Regions from separate parts of the Homo sapiens genome. Here region 2 is linked to region 1. Evidence: promoter capture Hi-C in 16 types of primary human blood cells and fetal thymus (Javierre and others, 2016). All regions are on one chromosome and are shown on one strand. Each heading gives the region's core, a stretch centred on a gene start or on the middle of the fragment in contact. The rest is flanking DNA. Distances are from core to core; before and after follow the strand shown.

Evidence for each region. Contacts are between HindIII fragments. The CHiCAGO score rates a contact against its expected background, and 5 or more counts as called.
Region 2: the fragment with the promoter of EMP1 here is called in contact with a fragment that was not itself captured in region 1 in 1 of 17 cell types (naive B cells); the score reaches 5.3 in naive B cells.

What each region holds. Positions count from the first base shown.
Region 1 is chr12:12,357,578-12,363,560 of GRCh38, forward strand. BORCS5 (BLOC-1 related complex subunit 5) reads left to right here. Exons shown (of 4, transcript NM_058169.6): 2 at 3,629-3,772. Among named protein-coding and RNA genes, the nearest start is that of BORCS5, 3.5 kb to the left of the region's middle. RefSeq lists an enhancer at 851-930. The HindIII fragment of the contact is 194 bases long and covers 4,637-4,830 here.
Region 2 is chr12:13,193,014-13,199,704 of GRCh38, forward strand. EMP1 (epithelial membrane protein 1) reads left to right here and starts at 3,713. Exons shown (of 5, transcript NM_001423.3): 1 at 3,713-3,859. RefSeq lists an enhancer at 5,753-6,253. The HindIII fragment of the contact is 10,564 bases long and covers 1-6,691 here.

The DNA of each region.
Region 1 (5,983 bases), core at 3,484-5,983:
ACTAGGGTCAGGGACTGCGGACGGGAACGCACAGAAAAAGCCTTCACCGTGCTAGTAGGAAAAAAAAAAAGTCACCATCTGTCCTGGCCTCGATTCCCCTGATGGAAGTGCGTGTGACTGCAAGCTAAGCCAGCGTGGGCGCCAGTGCCCTTATTTATTTTCAAAACAGCCGTTTCTCCCAGCTACAGCCTCCTGTTTAAAAGACGAGCTAATTAATTTTTGGCTCTAGTGCTCATGGCTGATGTAGTGAGATTTGGCTCACACAGTGGATGGATTATAGGACCTCTAAGAACAGTCTGTTTCTTAAAAACGGGTGTTAGAGGTTCCTTTTCTGAAGGGATATGTGATAGGTGTCCACTTGCTTTGAACCCTTTAGTGCAAAGGTCTCCAGAAACAGCTTTTTCTTCTCAGAAGGTGTCTTGGTCCGTTTTCTAATCTTGTAGAGGTTGGCCAGACAGCAGGCACTGGTGTTTTCCATTGTTGTTCTCTGTCCATGATTTTTAGACTTCTCTAAGCGTTTGAGACAAGAATGGGAGGATTATTGTGTTTGCAATACAGTGAGTGTTCAATAAATAGATAAAGCAGCTGATGTTTAATTGAGGACCATTTGCTGCTTTTTTTGTTACCCACACGCTAGGACAGCTGGGAGTGCTTTGGTTAAGCTCCGGGGTTGCTAACGCAAATTGGTTAAATCTGGGGCCTAAAAAGAGTCGCCGATTTTAGAAGTTCTCTGTTCTTGATAGGAGCTGTAATTCAGAAATAGGCAAGCTAATAGATCTAAGGGTGTTTCACTTTAAGGTGTGACTTTCAAGACTAGTTCAGACCTACATTCTGGGGACTGGATTGGGGCAGCTTTGAATGGTGAGCAGCATCTACTAGCTTTGCTACGTTTTTCTATTTCCTTGGAAGGGCCAGAGTGTCATATCTGTTATAAGAAATATAATAATTGCCACCTTTGACATTCTTGCCTCTATGGCAGGGCAGAAACATATTTTAGGGGGAAGCGGTGTGGCATCTTTTTAATTTGTTTTCTTGCCCATGAACCAACAGCATTCGAGCATTTCCGATGTTAGAATTTGCCTATTCCCCTGTGCCCGGTACTTTACATACATTTACATATAATTTTTGCAGTAATCCCATTTTACAGATAAAGTAGTAGAGGTTAGCTAGAGTGTTTTGAAGTCCCCTTTCCTCTGGTATCTGGGGAAGGAGGAATCACAATTTATAGCAGGAAAGATTTCTGGCATGGCTTTTGTAAAATGTTAGGTAAATTACCAAAACAGGTAAATAAATATTTCTTGAAAAGAAATAAAAGCAGCAGAGATTTTTCTAGAAGAGTGAATGCCAAGCCTCCGGAGACGAGCTTCTAGGAGGCAGAACAGTTCTATGGCATCCCTGGATTAACCTTTGAGATATGACTATAATGAGCCTGGGAATATTACCTTCTAGAGCATAAAACACTTTAAAGATTCATTCTTGTCCCAGTCTGGAAGATATTTGGGGGAGAGGATGATTTCTTGGTCTAGGGAGTCCTTTATAATTTGAATCACTTCCCTCCAAATGGATTACTTTCTCCCAAGGAACCTGAATTGATCTCCCTCTTTGTCCTCCAAATTTCTGATTTTTGCCTCAGCCTAGAATGGACTTACTGGCTATTTTTGCCCTGGACTAATGCTATAATTTTAAGAGTGAGGGGGCTGTAGTCCTAGCTACTCAGGCCCAGGTGGGAGGATTGCTGGAGCCCAGGAGTTTAAATCCAGCCTGGGCGATGTAGTGAGACTTGACTCTTTTTTTTTTTTTTTTTTTGAGACAGTCTCACTGTCACCTAGGCTGGAGTGCTGTGGCATGATCTTGGCTCACTGCAACCTCCGCCTCCCGGATTCAAGCAATTTTCCTGCCTCAGCCTCCCAAGTAGCTGGGATTACAGGGACATGCCACCACGCCTGGATAATTTTTGTATTTTTAGTAGAGATAGGGTTTCACCATGTTGGCCAGGCTGATCTCGAACTCCTGACCTCAAGTGATCCACCTGGCTTGGCCTCCCAAAGTGCTGGGATTACAGGCGTGAGCCACCGTGCCCAGCCGCCTTGACTTAAAAAAAAAAAAAAAAGAGTGAGGAGGCTGAAGCCTCGGGAATAGGCCAGTCATTCGGGGGTTGAGAACAGGTTTTTTTCCTGGACTTACTAAACATAGCTGGCTTGATGTGGTAGGGTGGATAGACAGCTTTGCAACTCCAGTGTCGCAGAGATGGGCCTTGTGTACCAATAACTTGTAGATGTCTAATTCCTTTCCTAACTGTCTAGCACTGCTGACTTTGGGCAAGTCACAGTTAAATTTTGTACCCTTTATTTCTCATTTTAGAAATAGGGAGATATATATATATATCTCAAGATAGCAGGAGAATTAAAGAGAAAGTAAAAACAATCTGCCTATACTTTTGTGTGCTGAAAAAGAAAATATTTAGTTATGAAAGAAGTTCATTCATGTTATATAATCCTGTAATGGGCTGGGCGTGATGGCTCACACCCGTAATTCTAGCACTTTGGGAGGCCGAGGTGGGTGGATCACGAGGTCAGGAGTTCGAGACCAGCCTGGCCAATATGGTGAAACCCCATCTCTACTAAAAATACAAAAATTAGCCAGATGTGGTGGTGCATGCCTGTTGTCCTAGCTACTCAGGAAGCTGAGGCAAGAGAATTACTTGAACCCAGGAGGCGGAGGTTGCAGTGAGCCGAGATTGCACCACTGTACTCCAACCTGGCGACAGAGCGAGGCTCTGCCTCAAAATAAAATAAAATCCTGTAATGTCTGAGGGTTTTTGTTGTTGTTGTTGTTTTGTTTTTTGAGACTCTTGCTGTCTTACCCATGCAGTGGTGTGATCATGGCTCACTGTGGTCTTGACCTCCTGGGCTCAAGTGATCCTCCCATCTCAGCTTCCTGAGTAGCTGGGACTACAGTGTGCACCACCACATCTGACTAATTAAAAGAAATTTTTTTTTTTTTTTTTTTTTTTTTTAGAGATAGGGTCTCACTATGTTGCCCAGGTTGGTCTTGAACTCCTGGACTCTGGTGATCCTCCCACTCAGCCTTTCAAAGTGCTGAGATTACAGGCATGAGCCACCACACCCAGCCTGAGGTGGCGTTTTTGTTTGTTTGTTTTTGAGACAGAGTCTCACTCTGTTGCCCAGGCTCAAGTGCAGTGGCACGATCTTGGCACACCGCAACCTCCGCCTCTCGGGCTCAAGTGATTCTCCTGCCTCAGCCTCCTGAGTAGCTGGGATTACAGGCACCCGCCACCATGCCCCGCTAATTTTTGTGTTTTTAGTAGAGACAGGGTTTCGCCATGTTGGCCAGGCTGGTCTTGAACTGCTGACCTCAGGTGATCTGCCCACCTCGGCTTCCCAAAGTGCTAAGATTACATGCATGAGCCACCGTGCCTGGCTCCAGCCTGAGCTTTTAAAAATACTATAGAAAACAGTTTCTATAATTCATCCCTGCCACCCCAACCCCAACTGCAAGATAGCTACATTTTATAAAATTATTCTTTTTAATCACTACACCAAAAACTGCTTTGGTGAGGCAGAGATGCCTAATATGCATCTCCTAAGCAGTGTAACTTTATTTTCAGTGACTCCTTCACCAGCCAAGCATAGAGCCAAGATGGATGATATTGTGGTTGTAGCTCAGGGCTCCCAGGCCTCACGGAACGTCAGCAACGATCCCGATGTCATCAAGTTGCAAGAGATTCCAACCTTCCAGCCCCTTTTGAAAGGTAAAGGATTGCGTTTTGTTTTATCTGAACTTGCTGGAGACGTTTGTGTAGCCCTACTACTTTCCCTCTACTTATCCATGTATCTTGCTCTCTCATCTCCTTTAGGTCTTTGCTTAAATGGCATCTTCTCAGTGAAGCCTTTCTTGATTTCCTTAATTAAAACTGCAGCCCCTTTGCCTACCTGTTTTTCTCTATAGCACTTAATTATCATTGACCTATTGCAAATATCTTTATCTGTCTATATTTCTCTGCTAGAATGTGAGCTCCATGATGGCAGGTATTTTCTCTTTTGCTCACTGTTGAATTCCCAGCACGTGAAATATAATCTGGTATAAGATAGGGACTAAGTGAATGAATGAGGTTGGAAATGGCCCTTCCCTGTTATATTCCCATGGAAAGATTTTCATTCTTATTTGTGATCTGGACAGTGGGTGGACTAGTTCAGATCCATAGAGAAAAATCTCCATCACTACTGATACACTCGTAATTAATCCTGGCGGCAGTTTTATATGAGAGTGTGTGTTTGAGAAGAGAGATTACCCACCCAATTAGCATATACTGTGGTAGTTACCTTTTGAACGAAGGCCACAACTTTATTATTTTTGTATCTCTATTAAGTAGTGGAGATTATTTTATATTAACTGGTGTTTCTGCTGTAAGAGTCCTTCAGTTCTCTCCTCCCTCACCCCCACCAAAGATTAGGAAATAATGAACATAAGGCCCTGGTTTACTTAACTTGGTATAATACAGTGTAAAACATCTTACATTTACATAGCTATTTGAATTAAAATGCCCCTCCTCATACACATATCATCCCTTTAATTCTTACATCATTAAATGTGTTTCAATGATTGGGGTAAGATAAGCTTCTTATAAGCCTTTTATAAGGCAGCTGGCATACACAGAGGTTGTACTTGAACCTTCTTCATTGATGTCAAATCCTATATTACACTGTTCCACACTATTTAGAAAACAAAAACAAATGGTGCTTTATAGATGATCCATATATTGTCTTATTCTTACCAGTGCTTCATCTGTTTCATAAATAAGGAAATACAAGCTTTCAGTTTCTTTTTTATTATTATTTAAGTTTTAGTGTACATGTGCACAACATGCAGGTTTGTTACATATGTATACATATGCTATGTTGGTGTGCTGCACCCATTAACTCGTCATTCACATTAGGTATATCTCCTAATCAATTTCTTCCCTACAGGCCTGAGAGTTAGACTTTGGTAAACATTCTGGCTCTTATGTAAAACAACACATTATATCATGTTACTCATCTTTTTTTTTTTTTTTTTTTTTTTTTTAGAGTTTTGCTCTGTCACCCAGGCTGGAGTGCAATGGCTTGATCTTGGCTTACTGCAACCTCCACCTCCCAGGTTCAAGTGATTCTCCTGCCTCAGCCTCCTGAAGTAGCTGTGATTACAGATGCCTGCCACCACGCCAAGCTAAATGTTTTTATTATTATTATTTTTAGTTGAGATGGGGTTTCACCATGTTGGCCAGGCTGGTCTCGAACTCCTGACCTCAGGTGATCCACCCACCTCGGCCTCCCAAAGTGCTGGGATTACAGGCGTGAGGCACCTTGCATGGCCTACTCATCTTCTTAGTTTTCATGATTTTGAGGAATAATGTGATTCTCTAAAGAAGTTAACAATAGTAGGGCATGGTGGCTCACACCTGTAATTCCAGCACTTTGGGTGGCTGAGGCAGGAGGATCACTTGAGTCCAACAGTTCAAGACCAGCCTGGGCAACACAATGAGACTCTGTCTCAACAGATAATACAAAAAATTAGCCAGGCATGGTGGCACATACCTGTCGTCCCAGCTAGTTGGGAAGCTGTTGTAGAAGGATCGCTTGAGCCCAGGAGGTCAAGGGTGCAGTGAGCAGTAGTCATGTCAGTACACTTCAGCCTAGGTGACAGAGTGAGATCCTGCCTCAAAAGAAAAAAAAAAAAAGCCGGCCAGGCGCTGCGGCTCATGCCTATAATCCCAGCACTTTGGGAGGCCGAGGTGGGTGGATCACCTGAGGTTAGGAGATCAATACCAGCCTGGCCAACATGGTGAAACCCCATTTCTACTAAAAATACAAAAAATTAGGCCGGGCGCAGTGGCTTACGCCTGTAAAACAGCACTTTGGGAGGCCAAGGCGGGTGGATCATGAGGTCAGGAGATCGAGACCATCCTGGCTAACACGGTGAAACC
Region 2 (6,691 bases), core at 2,463-4,962, 830 kb after region 1:
GGTCCAGGAGGCGGAGATTGCAATAAGTCGAGCTTGCACCACGGCACTCCAGCCTGGGTGACAAAGCGAGACCCCGTCTCAAAAAAACAAACAAAAACAAACAAAAAACCCAAAAAACAACAAAAACACCCCCAAAAACCATAAAGAAAGCCAGAAGAAAGCCTGAGAGAGAAATAGAGAGAGGAGAGTTGGAGAAAGAAAGAAAGGAAAGGGAAGGAATACAACATTTCTGGTAAATTCTCAAATTTCAAAGAGGAGTTGTGAGGAACAAACATTCCTTTGACTTGGGAAGATACTGTGTAACTTTTTCCCCCATTCTATTTACCTTCCAAGCAGTGTGTGCTAATATTAATATTGACATCCCTGTTCATATAATAGCTTTGGGGAACATGTTGCATAGTTTGGGATTCTTTTCGGTTAACTGAGTTTGAACAAAAACAAGTTCAAGCTATTATTAGTTTTCTTTTCTGTGGGCTGTAGGGGCCAGACCTGCCTTAGTAGACTTCTTGTATCAGTCATTAAAAGCCTTCGTTTCATGCATTCATTAAAATGTTTACGCCGGTTCAAACTTGAAAATCTGCCCCAAATGGCAACGTGCCAGAAGTTGATTCTTGTTGCTTCCGAAAAAGGGGAAAATATCCCTTTGCTGGAGTAACATTTGCACTGGGTGAGAGAGACATTCCCTCCCAAGAATATATGGCTTTATTGAGTGAGGTCAAATGAAACTTTGTCCGGTTCTTTGCCCATGCAGAAAATGAATGTGTCTAATTTACCTTCCAAATGGGGGAAATGGGAGCAGAAAGGCAGCTTACTCGACATTGTTTGGAAAGACCATATAAACGCCAGGGGAGCTGTATCTCCAGCCCCATGTGGTTTTAGGCCCTGAACCGTTTACTGTCTGTAGTCTCAAAATTGTCTGCTCATAGCCAAAGGAACACTCAGGCTTAACGAGTTAATCACATCCAGAGGCACAAAAAGCTAGAACTTCAGCCAGAACAGATCCAATTGCTTTCCCAGACTGGATAACTTTGTTTTATAAAATAAGCTCAGTGATATTTCAAGGGTTAATTATAAGTCTTTAGAAATCCTGGACTTGCATTCATCTTTTAAAAATATTTACACAACTTGGCTTTCTATGGCACCACTCTGTGTGTGCATGTGTGCATGTGTGTGTGCGTGCATGTGTTTTTGCATGTGTGCATGGGTGTGTTTTCACAGCTCAATGCATTTAATATTTTCTCTCCAAACCTAGACATCTCCAAAAGCACACAGGAAGGTGAGATTTATCAGACCCATTTGGAAGGTGATGCTGTCTACTCACTTTAAGGTGAAATGGAGGCAGGCAGATGCCTCGCTCACAGCCACTGCCAGGTAGTAGGCGTGGAAACTGGGCCTCCTGCTTTCTGGGTCCTGTTTTGAAGCCCGTCCCTGAGCCCAGCGTCTCTCTTTGTGAAATCCATGGAAATCCAGATAGACTGAAGGATTCCTCTACTCAAGTACTTTAAGAAAAGTTCCTGATTTTTCCCCTTGTTAAGCCCGAGAAGGAGGTGGGAGGGAGAATGCCTCCCCTCTGCTATTCCTTGGCTCCAGGTTTCTCTTTAAGAAATGCAATCAGACCACATACTCCTCAGCATCTGAGAACACTTCCTCTGGAGTCCAGTTCTCCTTTCCAGGCAGCTGAGGGAAGAGAGACTTTAAAACTGGCAGAGGGCATCAGGGGTGAAAGGCAACCCTGAGAGTAGGAAAAGGCCAGGGAGACAGGCCGATTCCAGCAGGGGAGACTGGCCCATCTGGAGCGCCAGCACATGCCTGGGGATTTCCTGGCCTCACCTGCAGACACCCTCCCCTCCCTGAGGGTTGGGATGCTCAGAGATCACAGGGACTCTCAACCCACTGCTGGGAGTGGCCCCTCTCAGACAGGCATTTTTATTATCAAATGAGCAATGAGAGAGGGGAGAGGTGAGGAACTCTATGAGAAACATGCAGTCTTTTATCACGTCATCAGTTTTCAGTGAGAAAATCCAGACCTTCTTACTTTTACAGAGATAGAATTCAGTTCTCAGGGACTTGTGAAGATGCAGCATCATCAAATCATTGTGTGTGTGTGTGTGTGTGTGTGTTGTGTTTTCCTTATCATCCACCTTAGAAAATATTCTCCACATTCCCATGTTAAAATATTTTTTCCTAAAATCCATCCATCCACATGCCAACATCCTAAAGACAGTAATATAGGTTCATTGCAGAGGATTTGGAAAATACAGAATTGTGACCAGAACAAACTAAACTGCATCCATAATTTTATCATCGAATTTGATCAACATTTTGGTGAATAGCCACCAGTCTGTTTTCTATCTTTTTAGGGAATATAAGTTCCAAGAGGCAGGGATGTCATTCACTTCTGTGACTCAGTGCTCTGAATCAGGCCCAGTGAAGACTGACGTGCAGCCTGTATTGGCAGAATGAATGAATAAATACTACACACGCATATTTTGAATTGAAATAAGTTGTCAGGGTGCAGCAGAGAATAACAGAAATAGAATTGCTTGGATGTGCTGACCTAGATCCAAGCTGCTACTGGTAACGTACTGTATCTCCTTGAATAAGTCACTTCACCTCTCTGGGCCTGAGCTGCTTCTTCAGTAAAATAATCCTTGTAGCTAAGATTTGTTGAGCGCTCACTATGCACACTGCCATGAGCCCCTATATGTGTATTTCTCATCATAGCTCTATGAGTTACATACCTGCCATCTCCATTTTATGCATGAGAAAATAGGCATGGAGAAGTTAAGTGGTTTGCCTAAAGTCACACAGCAAATTTGTGGAGAGCTGGGCTTGAACTCAGGCATCTGGGCTTTTACTCTCTCCAGTGGAATGCCTGGGCTGTGGGATGAGATGACTTCACAGGCCTCTCCCAGCTCCAGAGTTGAGAGAGAGAGAGGAGTGGTGCAGGGAGGTAGTAGGGATGATTATGCTACTGGCCAAGTTCAAGAAAGTCAATTGTAGAACAAGGTCCAGCTGATTATTACAGAGAGCAAAGTTCTTAACTAGAGGACTTCCTCCTGGAATGTGGAGAGTCCACACGGGCACTAGCAGAGCATAATGAAAGACCAGGAATTCTCTGCTGTTCAATCAGTGCTCCATCACTCAGAGGCAGGGCTGCAAGAGCTCCTAGTGTGTCCCCTTCGCCTTCAGGGCCTCCCTGTACAGCCACCCACAGGACAGTGCACCAGGGTCAGGCAGGGAAGTAAATAAAAAAAGGAATCTGATAATTCCTGACAGTGAGCAGCAGCTGATGCTTTTAATGGGGGAGGAAGACTGGGAATCTCGCTTGATGATGACCTAGGACTTCAGTCAGCAGGACACTGGCCCCTTTCCTCCCCCTCCCAGGCTGAAACCTTGTGTTTTGCCTTATGTCCATGGTAACCAAGTCTCCTTTTTGGTGAGGAGGAATGGGCTTCAGTAAACAGATCTATTTGTGTGATCCTGTTACTCATTTGAAGCAATGTCCCTCCTTTTTTCCACTGTGGTCTGTGTGTCTGAGTCAGAGAGAGCCTACAACAGGGTTCTTTGAATTGATGGCTCACTCCCAGCCACTCTTGACTGACTGCCAGCTTAGCAGGGCGTAGCTTACCAACAAATCTTTTTTTTTTTTTTAAAGCCAGACTGATTCATAGAAACTCCTTTAAAACACGGTGAAAAGAAACCGCCCATTACACACCCCAGTACACCAGCAGAGGAAACTTATAACCTCGGGAGGCAGGTCCTTCCCCTCAGTGCGGTCACATACTTCCAGAAGAGCGGACCAGGGCTGCTGCCAGCACCTGCCACTCAGAGCGCCTCTGTCGCTGGGACCCTTCAGGTAGGACAGCTCCCAACGCTGTGGGGACTCTCAGCAAAACTTCTCCTTCCTTTCCACGGCTCTGCTTCTTCTGACCTCATCTTAGTTTTGCTTTTTCTTTTCTTCCTTCGCTATTTTTCTATGATCCTCTAAGAACCAAGTCCTTGAAACTTTTGGCTCAAAGTGGATACAGAGACAACTTTTTCTAGAAAGTTCAGAAAAGTGTATTTTGAGGACGGAGTCTGGGGAAATCAATGGGATGGGGCTAAAATCGTGCCTGGCAGTGACCGGGTTCTTGTTCTAGGATGTGGAGGGAGCAGGGACTTTGAAACAAACTGGGATAGGATCCTGTTTATGGAGGAAACACCACACACCTTGGAAATGACATCGGGAACTGGCCAGATGTTTTTCACCTCCTCCGTTTTGATTCCGATTGCTTCAGGACTTGAACTGTTACTCTGCTCGCTGGTTGTTGGTTGGGATTTTTTGGGTGGTGGTGGATAGATAACTGGTTTTCAGTTTATTTTTGACATTGCTTTTCCTGCCTGTTTGCTTCCCTATTCACTTCTGTTTAAATTTAAGTATTTTTTTTCTCCTCACAGGATGGGAAGAGGGGGATTGGTTTGTTTAAAGAAAACTGTTGGCCGGGCACGGTGGCTCATGCCTGTAATCCTAGCACTTTGGGAGGCTGAGGCGGGCGGATCACCTGAGGTCAGGAGTTCAAGACAAGCCTGGCCAACATGGTGAAACCCTGTCTCTACTAAAATACAAAAAGTAGCCAGGCATGATGGCAGGTGCCTGTAATTCTAGCTACTTGGTAGGCTGAGACGGGAGAATTGCTTGAATCCGGGAGATGGTGGTTGCAGTGAACTGAGATTGCGCCACTACACTCCAGCCTGGGCAGCTGAGTGAGACTCTGTCTCAAAAAGGAAAAAAAAGAAAAAGAAAAAAAATGAAAAAAGAAAACTGTTAGAGAGAGAAAGAGAGGGAGGCAAATGGTGTTTTAAATGAAACGTGGGAGGGGTTCACTTGGTCGAAGCAGGAGCTGATGAGGATTCCAGATGCCTTCTCTTGGCCAGATGTGGAGGGCGGGGGAGGCAAAAGGGAAGCTGGGTTTGGAGAAGAGGGTGGGGCAGGAGAACTTCATCTGTGCCTGTTAAAAATTGTTGAGTGGCTTTGTGCTTTCACCCCAGAAAGAGCTGCCTTTCAGTGCTGAGTGAAAAGATGGCATACCAGAAACGATAAAAGAACTTTTAAAAGAAAGTGGATGTGGAATTTCTTTGCATGGAAGGCAGTGATTGTTTTGAAATGCTTATCTTTTCTCTTGTTCCCGAAATGTGATTGTATAAATGCAAACACTCATGCTAATCATGAAATCTGGAGGAATGAAGAAGGGTGCTTTTTCTTTTTTTTCTTTTTTTCTTTTTTTCGGTTAGCATTTTGGGTGAGTGTCTACCGAGGTGTGGCCCATTTCAACATAGACACTGGTATATTTTTTCCCCAAGTAAACAAGATGAGAATGACAGGATTCAGCTTGTCTGACAAAGTTAGGCTTTTCCTTTAGAAAGGCAGTACGTTGGGAGAGAAGTTACATGTAATCAACCCTGTGTTGAGCAGGCAATGCTCCTTGTAAAACTGCCCCAAGGGGGACGATTGAGTAGGCATCAGGGCAACTTTTCAAGATGAAGGGAACTCCTACATTTGCTTCACATGTTTATTATTTCCACATTACATGGATGTGGATTAGCCATTATTAAATCAATAGTGTTAATATCCTGTGAAAATTATACAAATCTTTTAGTTCTGTGCAGGTTAAAACTAATAACCAGTCAACACACGGAAAGCCCTGACAATGTTGGGAGTGTAAACCATCATGAACTGCATTATTTGTGGCAAGGTTTCACATGATACTGTAGGTTTATAAAGGAGAAAATATGCTACATGTTACTTCCTGGAGTTTGAAGACAATTTAGAAAAATACCGTTCTGATTCCTGCTCTCTGCTCTTCCTCCAAGAAGTAGTGAAAGAGTCCCTTAGCTGTGAGAGTTTTTCTGGATTTCAGCTTTGACAATCCCGAAATGTGAGGGTTATTTTTCCCCCCCACTCTGCCCGCTGCCTCCCACCCTCAGGGGCAGATCCAATTCCACCCAGACTCCGAAGAATGGGGCGGGGGCGGGGGCTGCAGGACATCCTGTCTGGCGCCCTGGTCAGAGGGCCCCCCACATTTACATTGTTTGTGGGTACTAAACTGTCTTGGGAGTTGGCAAAAGGCCATCAAGAACCAACTTGGAGCAAATCACATCCTTAGAATCTGGCTATCTCCCAGGACTGCTGGGCAGACCGCTGGGGAAAGGAAAGAGATCCCTTCTGTGGAGAGTGGAAAGGACTCACTGTGCCTTCCTCAGCCCTTCCTGCTTCCTCCAGAGACCAGATTAGGCCCATCAAGTTCCCAGCCTTGTCAGTGGGCTTCATGGAGACCCCTCACCCGGGAATGTAGACCCTCTTGGCTTGCTCTGGGTGGCTCTAGGGATTTCAGGTAGTGCCAGACCCACAGGGACTACTGGAGAGAGACACGTTGAAGACCGGGGAAAACTTGTGGATGAGGCAAGACTGCTTTTCTGTAGACTCTATGGAGCCTGGTGGGGCACATAACTGAAACGTGGACACAGGAAAGGGCAGGAGGCAAGTCAGTTCCATTTCATCCTTCATTTCGTTCACAGAATTCTAAATTTGGGAGGGATCTTGGATCTCATTCATTCTCCTACTGTATGCAGAAATCTAATTTTTACACCATCTTGAACAGATGGCCATCCTACAGATCTTAAAATTTCCAGATGCGGGGAGCTCAGAACC